3 separate regions of the Homo sapiens genome follow, and all the other regions are linked to region 1. Evidence: promoter capture Hi-C in human tissues and cell types (Jung and others, 2019). All regions are on one chromosome and are shown on one strand. The core of a region is centred on a gene start or on the middle of the fragment in contact, and the rest is flanking DNA. Distances in the headings are between cores, read along the strand shown. Region 1 overlaps TDRD12 (tudor domain containing 12). Region 2 holds the start of SLC7A9 (solute carrier family 7 member 9). Region 3 holds the start of TDRD12 (tudor domain containing 12).

Region 1 (3,882 bases), core at 877-3,376:
GTCTGCTGACAGCGGCGACGAGTCAATGGTTAAGCAGGGCTTGATCTTGTTCCGGAGCACTACCACGGGCGGCTGCAGGCCCTTCAGCTTCTGCAACTGAGAGAACGTGTGCATTAGACAACCAGTGTCTGCCCTGAGGCGTCAGCACAGGAGATCAAGAACTTCACAGAAATGAAGAAAATATAGATTTCAATGTAAACACCTGGGTATATATGCTTACTTAAAAAAAAAGAAAAAAAAAACCACCAAACTACCAAAAGGAAGATCGTTTATTATCCAAAAAACAAGGAACAATTTCTCAGAAGCAACAATCCATTCGATCGTTTCTAAAAGGATGTCTTCAGGTTAAGTCCCCCATCTAAGGAGTTTCTCTTCTAATCTCAAGTCTGGAGGGAGGAAGGAGAAGGATTTAAAGAATAAACAGTTTTTTCTCTCTTTTTATTTTACTTTTTTTAGGGCCTGTAATACCTGCTGGAGATCAGAGATTCCGTCAGCTCTCAAAGGATCAGGATTTAAAAACTGCAGTAATCTGTAAGATAGTTAAAAGAAGAATGTGAAGAAAAAGGTGTTTGTTTCCTCAGTTGAGCTATTCTTTTAGTTCTTCCTTGACAGAGATAGCAGGGGCTGCACAGCCCAAGGCTCAGCTGTACAACTGCTGCCTGTTCTGTTCTGCTTGGTTTATGAGACATGAGGGCCTGTACCTGTGCTGCCACAACCCTGCCACCCAGGTCCCCCTGAGAGTATCTGAGGGGCCCCAGCCAAGCTCAGGAATCACTAGTGTACTTTACTATCTTTATTTTATGGATGAGAAAACAAGACCAGATAGGACTTGTCCACAGTCACCTCTGCTGAGAGGAGAAGAAATTTGAAACTGCTTTCCTCTAGATCCAGCCCAACCCCAACATGGGTAAGGCCAGTGGCAGTCACAGAGAAGTCACAAGGCACAGACATGGCGGGGACTCCAGGATAAAGATGGTGGGTTACACACATGGCAAACTGCGCTCCTTCCTAAAGCCTCATTCCTGTAAACGCGTTTTTTCTTTTTTCTTTTTTTTTTGAGATGGAGTTTCGCTCTTGTTACTCAGGCTGGAGTACAGTGGTGTGATCTCAGCTGACTGCAACATCCGCCTCCCAGGTTCAAGAGATTCTCCTGCCTCAGCCTCCTGAGTAGCTGGGACTACAGGCATCCACCACCACACCCAGCTAATTTCTGTATTTTTAGTAGAGACAGGGTTTCACCATTGTTGTCCAGGCTGGTCTCGAACTCCTGACCTCAGGTGAACCGCCTGCCTCGGCTTCCCAAACTGCTGGGATTATAGGCGTGAGCCACTGCGCCCGGCCCTGTAAATGGATTTTCAAATGCAAAAGCCACAAGATCCAACTGTTATCAGCTGATGAATGGGTACATGAAATGCACTCCATGCACGCAATGGAATATAAGTCAGTCATGAAAAGGCATGCTGTGCTAGTTTATGATATGGCAGAGATGAGCCTTGGAAACACTGTGCAGTGAAACCAGCGTCACCAAGGCCCACCCACCGTATGAGCCCATCGATATGAAATGTCCTGAACAGGCAAACCCATAGAGACTGAAAGCAGACAGCTGGCTACCAAAGGATGTGGAGGGAGGAAAATGGAGGGTGACCGCTAATGGGTATGCACTTACTTGTGTGGTTGCAAACTCTGTGAATACACTAAAAATCACTGAATTGTACACTTGAAAAAAGGGTACATGAATCATATTTCAAAAAAGCTATGTTTTAGAGACAATATTCCAGAACAGAATGTTGGAAGCTAAAAAACAGATGGACAAACTGGTAACAGCCCCAAGACAGTTGACCCTGAGCCAGCCGCGGGAGGCCTGACCCTATCTGCAGAGAACAACCTTCAGAAAGCTTAGGAATTAGGGGCAGGCTCCCTGGCTGCAGCAATGTGGCAGAGGGGGGAACCTCTGCATCACCTTACACTACTCCACACCAGACGGCCACTCACCCCAACCCGAGGAAGGCCAGGGGCTGATTCTCTGGAGAGGATAAAGCAGAACTCTCAGGACTCGGGGCTGTAGGCCTAGCTGCAAACAGAGGTGCTGAACTGAAAAGAAGGAGGCTAAGCACACACAGGACAGTGAGACCCAGCCTGTGCCTCCCACTCAGCTCCCAGGACACAGGCAGGTCTTTAGCCCCAGGGGCCAGAGACAGGAGAAGCCTTCCCTTGGGCATCTGGACGGAATTCAGAGGTCCCTGTACTCACAGCAGCTCGCTCCCCAGAGAGACCCACAGCCCACAGGCTTGGCACACTCAGAGACCCTCACCGGCTCACTGGGCCTCTACGTTGAAATACAGGCAGACAATCAAGGACTGCATGACATCTAAGGAAAGCCTCCAGCCTTAAAAACCGAGTAATGCACCCTGCAAAAAAAGAAACAGTGTAGGGAGAAGAAAACTCCCCCACAAAAATCATTAGTCTCCTTAGAGAAATGAGAGAAACTACCATATATGTGAAACGAGGACAGGACACTGTCAGAAAAAGAAAAGAGAAAAGAGAACAAAAGGAAAACCCTTGCAAATTAAAAACGTGATATTAGAAATAAAAAACACAATAAAATGAGTAGAGGACAAAATTGTAAAATCATTCCAAAAAGTAAAGCAGGCTGGGTGTGGTGGCTCACACCTATAATCCCAGCCTTTTGGGAGGCCGAGGCAGGCAGATCACTTGAGGTCAGGAGTTTGAGACCAGCCTGGCCAATATAGTGAAACCCTGTCTCTACTAAAAATACAAAAATCAGTCAGGTGTGGTGGCAGGCACCTGTAATCCCAGACTGAGGCAGGAGAATCACTTGAACCCAGGAGGCAGAAGCTGCAGTGAGCCGACATCGCACCACTGCACTCCAGCCTGGGCAAAAGAGCGAGACTCCATTTCAAAAAAACAAAAAAAAAGAAAAAAAAAAGTAAAGCAAAAAGACAAAGAGATTAAAAAAAGAGCAGGCACTTTCAAGATGGCCAAATAGGAACAGCTCCAGTCTATAGCTCTCAGCAAGATCAATGCAGAAGATGGGTGATTTCTGCATTTCCAACTGAGGTACCTGGTTCATCTCACTGGGACTGGTTGGACAGTGGGTGCAGCCCGTGGAGGGTGAGCTGAAGCAGGGTGGAGTGTCGCCCCACCTGGGAAGCACAAGGGGAAAGGTTTCCCTTTCCTAGCCAAGGGAAGCCATGACTGACTGTACCTGGAGGAGCAGTATACTCCTGCCCAAATACTGCGCTTTTCCCAGTCTTCACAACCAGCAGACCAGGAGATTCCCTCCTGTGCCTGGCTCGGCGGGTCCCACGCCCACAGATCCTTGCTCGATGCTAGCACAGCAGTCTGAGATCGACCTGGGATGCGGGAGCTTGGTGTGGGGAGGGGTGTCCACCATTGCTGAGGTTGAGTAGGCGGTTCTATGCTCACAGTGTAAACAAAGCAGCGGGGAAGCTCAAACTGGGTGGAGCCCACCGCAGCTCAGCAAGGCCTACTGCCTCTCCAGATTCCACCTCTGGGGGCATGGCATATCTGACCCAAAGGCAGCAGACAGCTTCTCCAGACTTAAACGTCCCTGCCTGACAGCTATGAAGAGAGCAGTGGTTCTCCCAGCACAGCACCTGAGCTCTGATAATGGACAGACTGCCTCCTCAAGTGGGTCTCTGACTCATGTGTAGCCTGACTGGGAGACATCTCCCAGTAGGGGCCGACAGACACCTCATACAGGTGGGTGTCCCTCTGGGATGAAGCTTCCAGAGGAAGGATCAGGCAGCAATATTTGCTGTTCTGCAGCCTCTGCCCAGGGAAACAGGGTGTGGGGTGGACCTCCAGCAAACTCCAACAGAGCTGCAGCTGAGGGGCCTG
Region 2 (3,882 bases), core at 789-3,288, 81 kb before region 1:
GGCATGGTGGTGGATGCCTGTAATCCCAGCTACTCAGGAGGCTGAGACAGGAGAATCACTTGAACCCAGGAGGCAGAGGTTGCAGTGAGCTGAGATCGTGCCACTGCACTCCAGCCTGGGCGACAGAGTGAGGCTCCATCTAAAAAAAAAAAAATTGACAGCAGGGAGGTGAAACTTCAGTCACATGGCAGAAGCACTGGATACACAATGAACCAATGGTCTTCAAGAACTGAGGAAAATTTTGCTTTTTAAATGAAATCCGTATTATTTTCCATGAGGAAGAGCTTATGAGAATTACTTGAATACTTTCTGTGTATTCAAGGGAGGGAGAGGGTGGGACTGCGGTGAAAAACACAACTTTAAGAAACAGGCTTAAGAAATGCTCACCGTGGACCCAAAATGAACTGAAGTGGAGGTTTCTGACTTAACAAAGGACCCTCACATCCCGATGTTCCAGACTCGGCACTTGGAAGAGGCCCAGGAAGACCAGAGGGCTGGTCCCGGACATTCATGGAACATGCAAGTTCAGTGTGTTCCGTGAGGAGGCGCCTGTTGCTCGCCCTGCGTCGCAGGTTCAGACCCTGATCCTGGCAGTGCTGCCTGAGCCCATGTGGGTAGTGGGTGAGGTTGCAGGGCTGTCTGGCCCCAGCGGGGGACCACTGCCCCACCCTGATGTCCTCACGTGGTCTCCTGTCAGCCTGCCAGGAGCACTTTTGACCCAGGGGGTATTCTGTGGTGTTTTGCAAACATGGATGTGCCAGGTACTATGATGAGTGCTGCAACATTAGGAGGAGTGACCCCAGCAAGCCGGTGGGCAGGTTCTGTCTAGGGTGGCAGGACCTGCCACTAGCCTCTCTGCTCAGGGCTCTGGGCATGGCAGGCAGGTAAACAGGTGGGCCCTCCCAAGATGGGAGGTGACGAACTTCTAAATCAGGACCGTGCCTCTGGGACAACAAGGGTCCCTGTGCTCTGCAGACGGCTTTCAGAGAAACCTGTGCCTCTCTCAGGTCTGCTTGCCCCAAACTGCTCCCAAACTGACCCCCAGAGACTGGCCCAGCTCCTTCCATCCCTGACCTTTGCTTCCATCTGATATCTGGGATGCAGTTAAGTTTGGCCCAAGGCAAAGCTACCAGAGTTTTGGCTGAAGGTAACAGCTACGATGCTTCAGATGCAGTGCTTATGCTGTGCCAGGCTGTCTCATAAGGTCTCATAAGGTGCTTCCTTCCCTATCTGAAAGGGCTTCGTGCTGACCCCTGAGGCTGCCGCCTGAGCCTAGGTCCAATCGCAGTGCGGGAGAACCTCTGCTCCCTCCCAGAGAGATCCAGACCCTGGCAGCCCTGGATGCGGACCGGAGCTTCCTGGCCTTGTGTTGCCTGTCCCCCTCCGTTTCCCCGAAGGGGAAGGTTTTGTGTCCCTTGTGATGAGCCAGGACATGGCTACGTGAACAGCACCACAGCCAAACCTGATGGGCATTTGGCCGCAGCTGCAGGGAGGACACGAGGCCCTGCATTGCCTCAGGCCTGCTTGTGATTCCAAGTGGTGAAGCCCCATCACTGGTAAAGAGGAGTGGGACGGGCTCAGCCGCTCTCACCTGCTCAGCCAGAGGCAGGCCCTTGGCTTGGGGGAAATTCCTGGGCGGGGAGGAAACTGACCAACAGCTGAGTTACGCACACACAGCGGTTCCTGTTTGAGCTGCCTGACTTGGGTTTTAAATATAGCCTATTAAGGCAATTAGCGAATTGGTTCCAAAGTTTATCTCCTCTGATTCCCAAAGATAAAAGAAGGCATAATTTATTTTATCTTTAGGTAAAAAGTGTAGACGATTTGGGACCATCTGGTTTTAAAAAAATAATCTGACCTAGACACAAATGAACAAAACAAAAACGGTTTTGGAGAGAAATTGGTGTTCCTGACCCTCCCCTTTTTTGTGTGGCGTATCTAAGCTTCATTGCAAAAAAAAAAAAAAAGGTGTTTAATAATTACCCTTATTGACCTCTGTACCTTCTGGACTTCCTTTGCTCCTGGGCACAAGACATGGCCATTTCTAGGGTTGGACCGTGCAGGCACGGGCGGTCAGCTGGGCCGCAGCTCCTCCGGCTCTGCAGGGTCACGGAGGAAGGTAAGTAAGGTCAGTAGGTGATAGAAAGGCTCATGGCTCTCCTGGCCGGGGCCTGGACAGATAATTTATTTAGAGAGAGGGTACAGGAGTGCATGGTTTTCTCCTAGTTCAGTCTGGAACTGGGTTTCCTCGGCAATGTTTTCTTTCCTTTCATCACTCAATGAAAAAGTACCTGGCCAGGCGTGGTGGCTCACCCCTGAAATCCCAGCCCTTTGGGAGGCCGAGGTGGAAGGACTGCTTGAGGCCAGCCGGGGCAAATAGCAACACTCCCGTCTTTATAAAAAATATTGTAAAAATTTAAAAAGTACAAAGAAAAAGTACCTGTATTGTGGATCTGTGATGTATGGGAGTGCCTTTAATCTTGGGAAGGAATTATAAGACAGACACTCCTTACCTGGACTTGATTCTGATAAATACATTCCACAATATTTTCATTTTTTAATTTTTTATATATATATTTTTTGAAACAGAATCTCGCTCTGTGGCCCAGGCTGGAGTGCAGTGGCATGATCTTGGCTCACTGCAGCCTCTGCCTCCAGGGTTCAAGTGCTTCTCTTGCCTCAGCCTCCCGAGTAGCTGGGATTAACAGGCACCCACCACCACACCCAGCTAATTTTTTTTTTTTTTTTTTTGCATTTTTAGTAGAGACGGGGTTCGCCATGTTAGCCAGGCTGGTCTCAAACTCCTGGGCTCAAGTGATCCACCCACCTCGGCCTCCGAAAGTGCTGGGATTACAGACCTGAGCCACTGTGCCCAGCCCGGGATGTTGTTAAATATTTCTTTTTACTTTTGAAAAAAAATGAAGTTGACCATAGAGGTAGAATGACTTTCAAGGCACAGGCACGTGGGCCAGGAGGCTCCCGGGGCCTGTCTGGGAGAGAGCTAAGCAAGCAGCTGAGCTTTGGAGAGCAGCGGGGAGCTGTGTTCCCCTGCCTGGACAATGTTAATGACTGACTTTGACTCTGGGGCCCAGCGCATGAGCCCTGAGGGACTGGCAGCGGCCCCCACCTGCAGCAATAACCAACACTGTGCTTTTGCAGCCAGCTCCCCTAGTCCAGGCCGAGCTTGCACTTGCGTCTTGTCTGCTGCTGCTGAACCAAGATTTAGCTGTGCGCCCTCCTTGCAGTCTCCTGGAACCAGCAGGAGGAAACATGGGGGATACTGGCCTGAGAAAGCGGAGAGAGGATGAGAAGTCGATCCAGAGCCAAGAGCCTAAGACCACCAGTCTCCAAAAGGAGGTAAGGCGGTCTCTGGTGGGGCAGGCCCTTTGCAGGTTAGGCAAGGGCGTCTGAACGAGGGGCGCAGGCAGTGAAATCCGGGCCGATCCCTAGTGACACGGCAGAAGATGTACTCTTTGATTTGTGAAGTACATCTTTAAAGGGATAATCTCTGGACTTACTTCTCTTTCCCTCTCGCCAGGGAATTCTGCATCTTCTTTTTTTTTTTTTTTTTTTTGAGATGGAGTGTTGCTCTGTCACCCAGGCTAGAGTGCAGTGCTGCCATCTCGGCTCAATGCAACCTTCACCTCCCCGGTTCAAGGGATTCTTCTGACTCAGCCTCCCGAGTAGCTGGGATTACAAGCACCCGCCACCATACCCGGCTAATTTTTGTATTTTTAGTAGAGACAGGGTTTCACCATGTTGGCCAGGCTGGTCTCAGACTCTTGGCCTCAGGTGATCCTCCCAAAGTGCTGGGATTACAGGCGTGTGCCACTGCACTCGGCTGCATATTCTTTTTTTTTTTTTTTTTTTTTTTTGAGACAG
Region 3 (3,882 bases), core at 463-2,962, 69 kb after region 1:
GGGAAGCGGAGGTTGCAGTGAGCTGAGGTCACACCACTGCACTCCAGCCTAGACAACAAGAGCGAAACTCCATCTCAAAAAAATAAATGAATAAATAATAAAATAAAATAAAACAATCCCACAATCTGCTACGTCCAGCTCCTGGGCCCACTGAAGTGTGATTTTCAAAGTATTTAGATTTCCTTTCTCCAATAACCCATACCCACCCCTCTGCTCTGGCCTGTCAACTCCTTCCTCCAGCAACGCTTTCCCCTTCACCAATGAGCCCTCACTGGACTCCAAGGGGGAAAAGCAAGGGTCCAGGCGGGCGTCCCTTCCCCGAGGACTAGAACAACGCCCACGCAGAGCCCACGCGGTGAGCGGATAGGGCAACAGAGACTGGGGGCATGAGGGAAGCCCGGACCCATGGGCTGGGGCTGCCCGGGCCACCCGACCCTGTCCAGGCGCCGAGCCTAAGGGCCCCGTGGAGTACGGAGAGCGGGGCCCTGGGGACGCCAGTGTCGCTTGGCCCGGGTGATCGAGCATTCGGAGGAGCAACCAATTCCGCGCTCCTCCAGGTGCATCCCGGAGCACGCCAGGGCCCGTGAAACCCGGGCTCATCCGGGTTCTACCCCAGCTCCCAGCCCGGGGTGCCCCCTGGTGGGGGCGCAGGGAGGGTTCAGGTGGGGGAGGGCGGGGTGGGGTTGGAGTGGAGGTGGGGTGGGCTGCGGCTGGGGTGCAGGTGGGAGTGGAGATGGGGTGGTGGTGGGGTGTGTGGGGCTGAGTGTGGGGGGATGAAATGTTGGGGTGGAGGTGTGAGTGGGGGCGGTGGGAATAAGGATGGGGTGGGGACAGGGGCGAGGGTGTGACTGTGGGGTGGGCAGCGATAAGGAAACGGGTGGGAGCTGGGGCTAGGGTAGGAGTTGGGGGTGTGTGGGGTTGGGAGTGGGATGGGTTGGGGTGGGAGTGGGGTGGGAGTGGGGGCGTGGTGTGGCGGCATGGGATATACGGGGTTGGGATGTGTGGGAGTGGGATGGAGTGTGCAGCAGTGAGATGGGGTGGGGGCATGTGTGAGTGTGGGGGTGGAGCTGGGTGGGAGTGGGTGTGGGAGGATGTGTGGGTTGGGGGAGGAGTGGGCGTGGGGAGTAGGTGTGGGCTGAGAGGGAGTGGACATGGGGGGGATGCGTGGGCTGGGAGGAGTGGGTGTGGAGGGATGTGGAGGCTGGGATGGGGGGAGGGGTGGGGGCTGTGTAGGGTTGGGGTCGGGGGTGGGAGGCTGTGCGGGGCTGCGGTGGGTGTAGGAAGCTGTGCGGAGCTGGGGTGGGGGTGGGAGGCTGTGCGCGGCTGGGGTGGGGGTGGGGGACTGCGTGGGTCTGGCGTGGGTCTGGCTTGGCGGCGCTCACCTTCAGCACCAGGAGCTGGAGCATCCTCCTGGCGCCCGAGGGCAGATGGGCCCCCTCGCCCTGGAAGTCCCCTACCGTCGCGGGTGAGGCTGGCTGCGTCCGCCCCGGCCAGGCCCCCGCCGCGAGTGCGTTCCTTCCCTCCACCTTTAGCGCCTGGGCCCCCCGCGGCAGGTGCCCCACACTCCTCGTCCCCAGGAGCCCTCGCGGACCCCGGGGTCGGCTCGAGGCAATGCGCTCCGTCCTGGCAGTAACCAGCCCCTCGCTGCGGGATCCCTGCCTGCCTGGCCTCGGGCCTCCCGCACCCACCGGATGCCCGCGCACGCTGAGCAGGCCTTGAGGCGTCGGAGACCACGTGGTCCACCCAACGGCCCAACAACGTAAGGCACAGCGCCACGCGGTGGCCAGGAGGACTGACGCGCGGAGGCCCTGGGAGGCCCGGCTAGGGGTCGCGTGATTCTCTCTTTTGCAGCCAGCAGGACTGCCCTGCAGGCCCCAGGGACACTCGCCTGTCCCCCGGAGGGACAGAGGGGCCGCGTGCGGCTGAGTCCGTTGGAAACCACCTTTGCAAAATTGTAACTGAGGAAATTGTGATGGTGAAAGAAATCAGACCTAATCAACTCCATCTTGCCTCTAACCTTTAAGCTGTCCTTGTTTATTCCTGGGCGGAAGCCCAACTAACCTTGGGAAGGAATTCAGTCCATGGTTTGACTCTGAAACAAAATTGATAAGAGCCTGTGAATCCTGAAAATGTGAGATAGGTCTCAGTTCATTTAGAAAGTTTATTTGGCCAGCAGAGCGAGGTGGCTCAGGCCTGTAATCCCAGCGCTTTGGGAGGCGAGGGGTGCGGATCACCTGATAAGGTTAGGAGTTGGAGACTAGCATCCTCGACATGGTGAAACCCCGTCTCTACTAAAAATAGAAAAATTAGCCTGGCATGGTGGGGAGCGCCTCTAATCCCAGCTACTTGGGAGGCTGAGACAGGAGAATCGCTTGAACCCGGGAGGCAGAGGTTTCAGTGAGCTGAGATCAGGCCACTGCACCCCAGCCTGGGCGACAGAGTGAGACTCTGTCTCAAAAAACAAAACAAAACAAAAAATTTTGCCAAGGTTGAGGACAGGCGCCCCTGACACAGGAAGTCCTAACGACATTTGCTAGACGTGGTCGAGGCACAGCTTGTGTTAAAGTTGGAGGGTGTCCAGGTTCTTGGTGTCTTGAAGAAAGAATTTGACAAAAGGCACACACAAAGCAAGGAAGGAATGAAGGGTTTTATTGAAAAAGTACACTCCACAGTGTGGGAGCAGGCCTGAACACAGGGACTCAAAGGCCCGGCAGAATTTCTGTGAATTTAAATACCTTCTGCTTGGGGTACGCCCGATGTAAATGAAGACGGTGAAGTAAAGTTACGAAGTCATTTACTCGGTGTATGCCCTATGGAGAGGGTATTTCCCCTTATAGCTGAAGCGTGAATCGGCCTTATGTTCCCTACCTCCAGACCCTATTTTCCTGCCTCACTTGGTCTTTTACATTTTAGGGAGGCATGAGACAACAATCCTTGAATCAGCTCAGTGGATCAGCTGACACCACCCACACCGATAATCTGCCTCAACCAGTTCTGCCAAACCAACCAGGAAGAGTAAATAGCAAGAAAAACTCCAACAACCTCTGATTCCATCTTCAACCTGGCCAATCAGCACTCCCCACTTCCCAAGCTCCTACCCGCCCAATTGTCTTTAAAAACTCTGTTCCTCAAATGCTCGGAGAGACTGATTTGAGTAATAATAAAACTCCAGTCTCCCACACAGCCGGCTCTGCGTGAATTACTCTTTCTCCATTGCAATTCCCTGTCTTGATAAATTGGCTCTGTCTAGGCAGCGGGCAAGGTGAACCCATTAGGTGGTTACAAGTTCATTATTTTATTTTTAAAGAGACAGGATATGGCTCTCTTGCCCAAGCTGGAGTGCAGTGGCACAATCATGGCTCACTGCAGCCTTGAATTCCTGGGCTCAGTTGATCCTCCATCTTCAGCCTCTCAAGTAGCTGGGACTACAGGCATGCACCACCACGCCTGGATAATTTTTTAATTTTTTTGTAGAGATGGGGGTCTCGCTGTGTTGCCCAGGCTGGTGTTGAACTCCTGGGCTCAAGCCATCCTTCCGCCTCAGCCCCCTGAGCAGCTAGGATTACAGGCATGAACCACCACACCAGGCCCTCAGTTGGTCCTTGTTGCCTGCTAAGGGGCCCCTGTCCTCCTGCTTTCTCTAGGCCAGCCTACACCCCTTAAACGCTGTGAGCTGGAAGCCTTGGTGGTGAGGAAGAGTCCTGGACAGTCATGAATCCCTGGGTCTTCGTGGCCTCCTGGCAACATTTCCATTTGATCTGCACCTTTTGGAAAGGTTCCTGGTCCTGGATTTCTTCCCAGCTGGACTTCAACTGGCAGGGCTCTCCGAGTCTAAACGAGTTAATTTGCTAGTAAGGGAACCAACAAGATGACAAAAGACTG

What was found. Contacts are between HindIII fragments. The study calls those that stand out against the background at their distance.
Region 2: a contact is called between the fragment with the promoter of SLC7A9 here and a fragment that was not itself captured in region 1, in 3 of the 25 tissues and cell types used here (aorta, bladder and spleen).
Region 3: the fragment with the promoter of TDRD12 here is called in contact with a fragment that was not itself captured in region 1 in 4 of the 25 tissues and cell types used here (H1 embryonic stem cells, mesendoderm cells, pancreas and 1 more).

What each region holds. Positions count from the first base shown.
Region 1 is chr19:32,787,178-32,791,059 of GRCh38, reverse strand. TDRD12 (tudor domain containing 12) reads right to left here. Exons shown (of 33, transcript NM_001366102.1): 12 at 469-529; 13 at 1-96. Among named protein-coding and RNA genes, the nearest start is that of TDRD12, 69 kb to the right of the region's middle. RefSeq lists an enhancer at 3,243-3,537. The HindIII fragment of the contact is 4,950 bases long and covers 1-3,882 here.
Region 2 is chr19:32,867,923-32,871,804 of GRCh38, reverse strand. SLC7A9 (solute carrier family 7 member 9) reads left to right here and starts at 2,038. Exons shown (of 13, transcript NM_014270.5): 1 at 2,038-2,119; 2 at 3,160-3,357. The coding sequence starts at 3,271. RefSeq lists enhancers at 688-1,210, 1,211-1,733, 3,175-3,750. The HindIII fragment of the contact is 18,950 bases long and covers 259-3,882 here.
Region 3 is chr19:32,717,597-32,721,478 of GRCh38, reverse strand. TDRD12 (tudor domain containing 12) reads right to left here and starts at 1,712. Exons shown (of 33, transcript NM_001366102.1): 1 at 1,383-1,712. The coding sequence starts at 1,406. The HindIII fragment of the contact is 27,705 bases long and covers 1-3,882 here.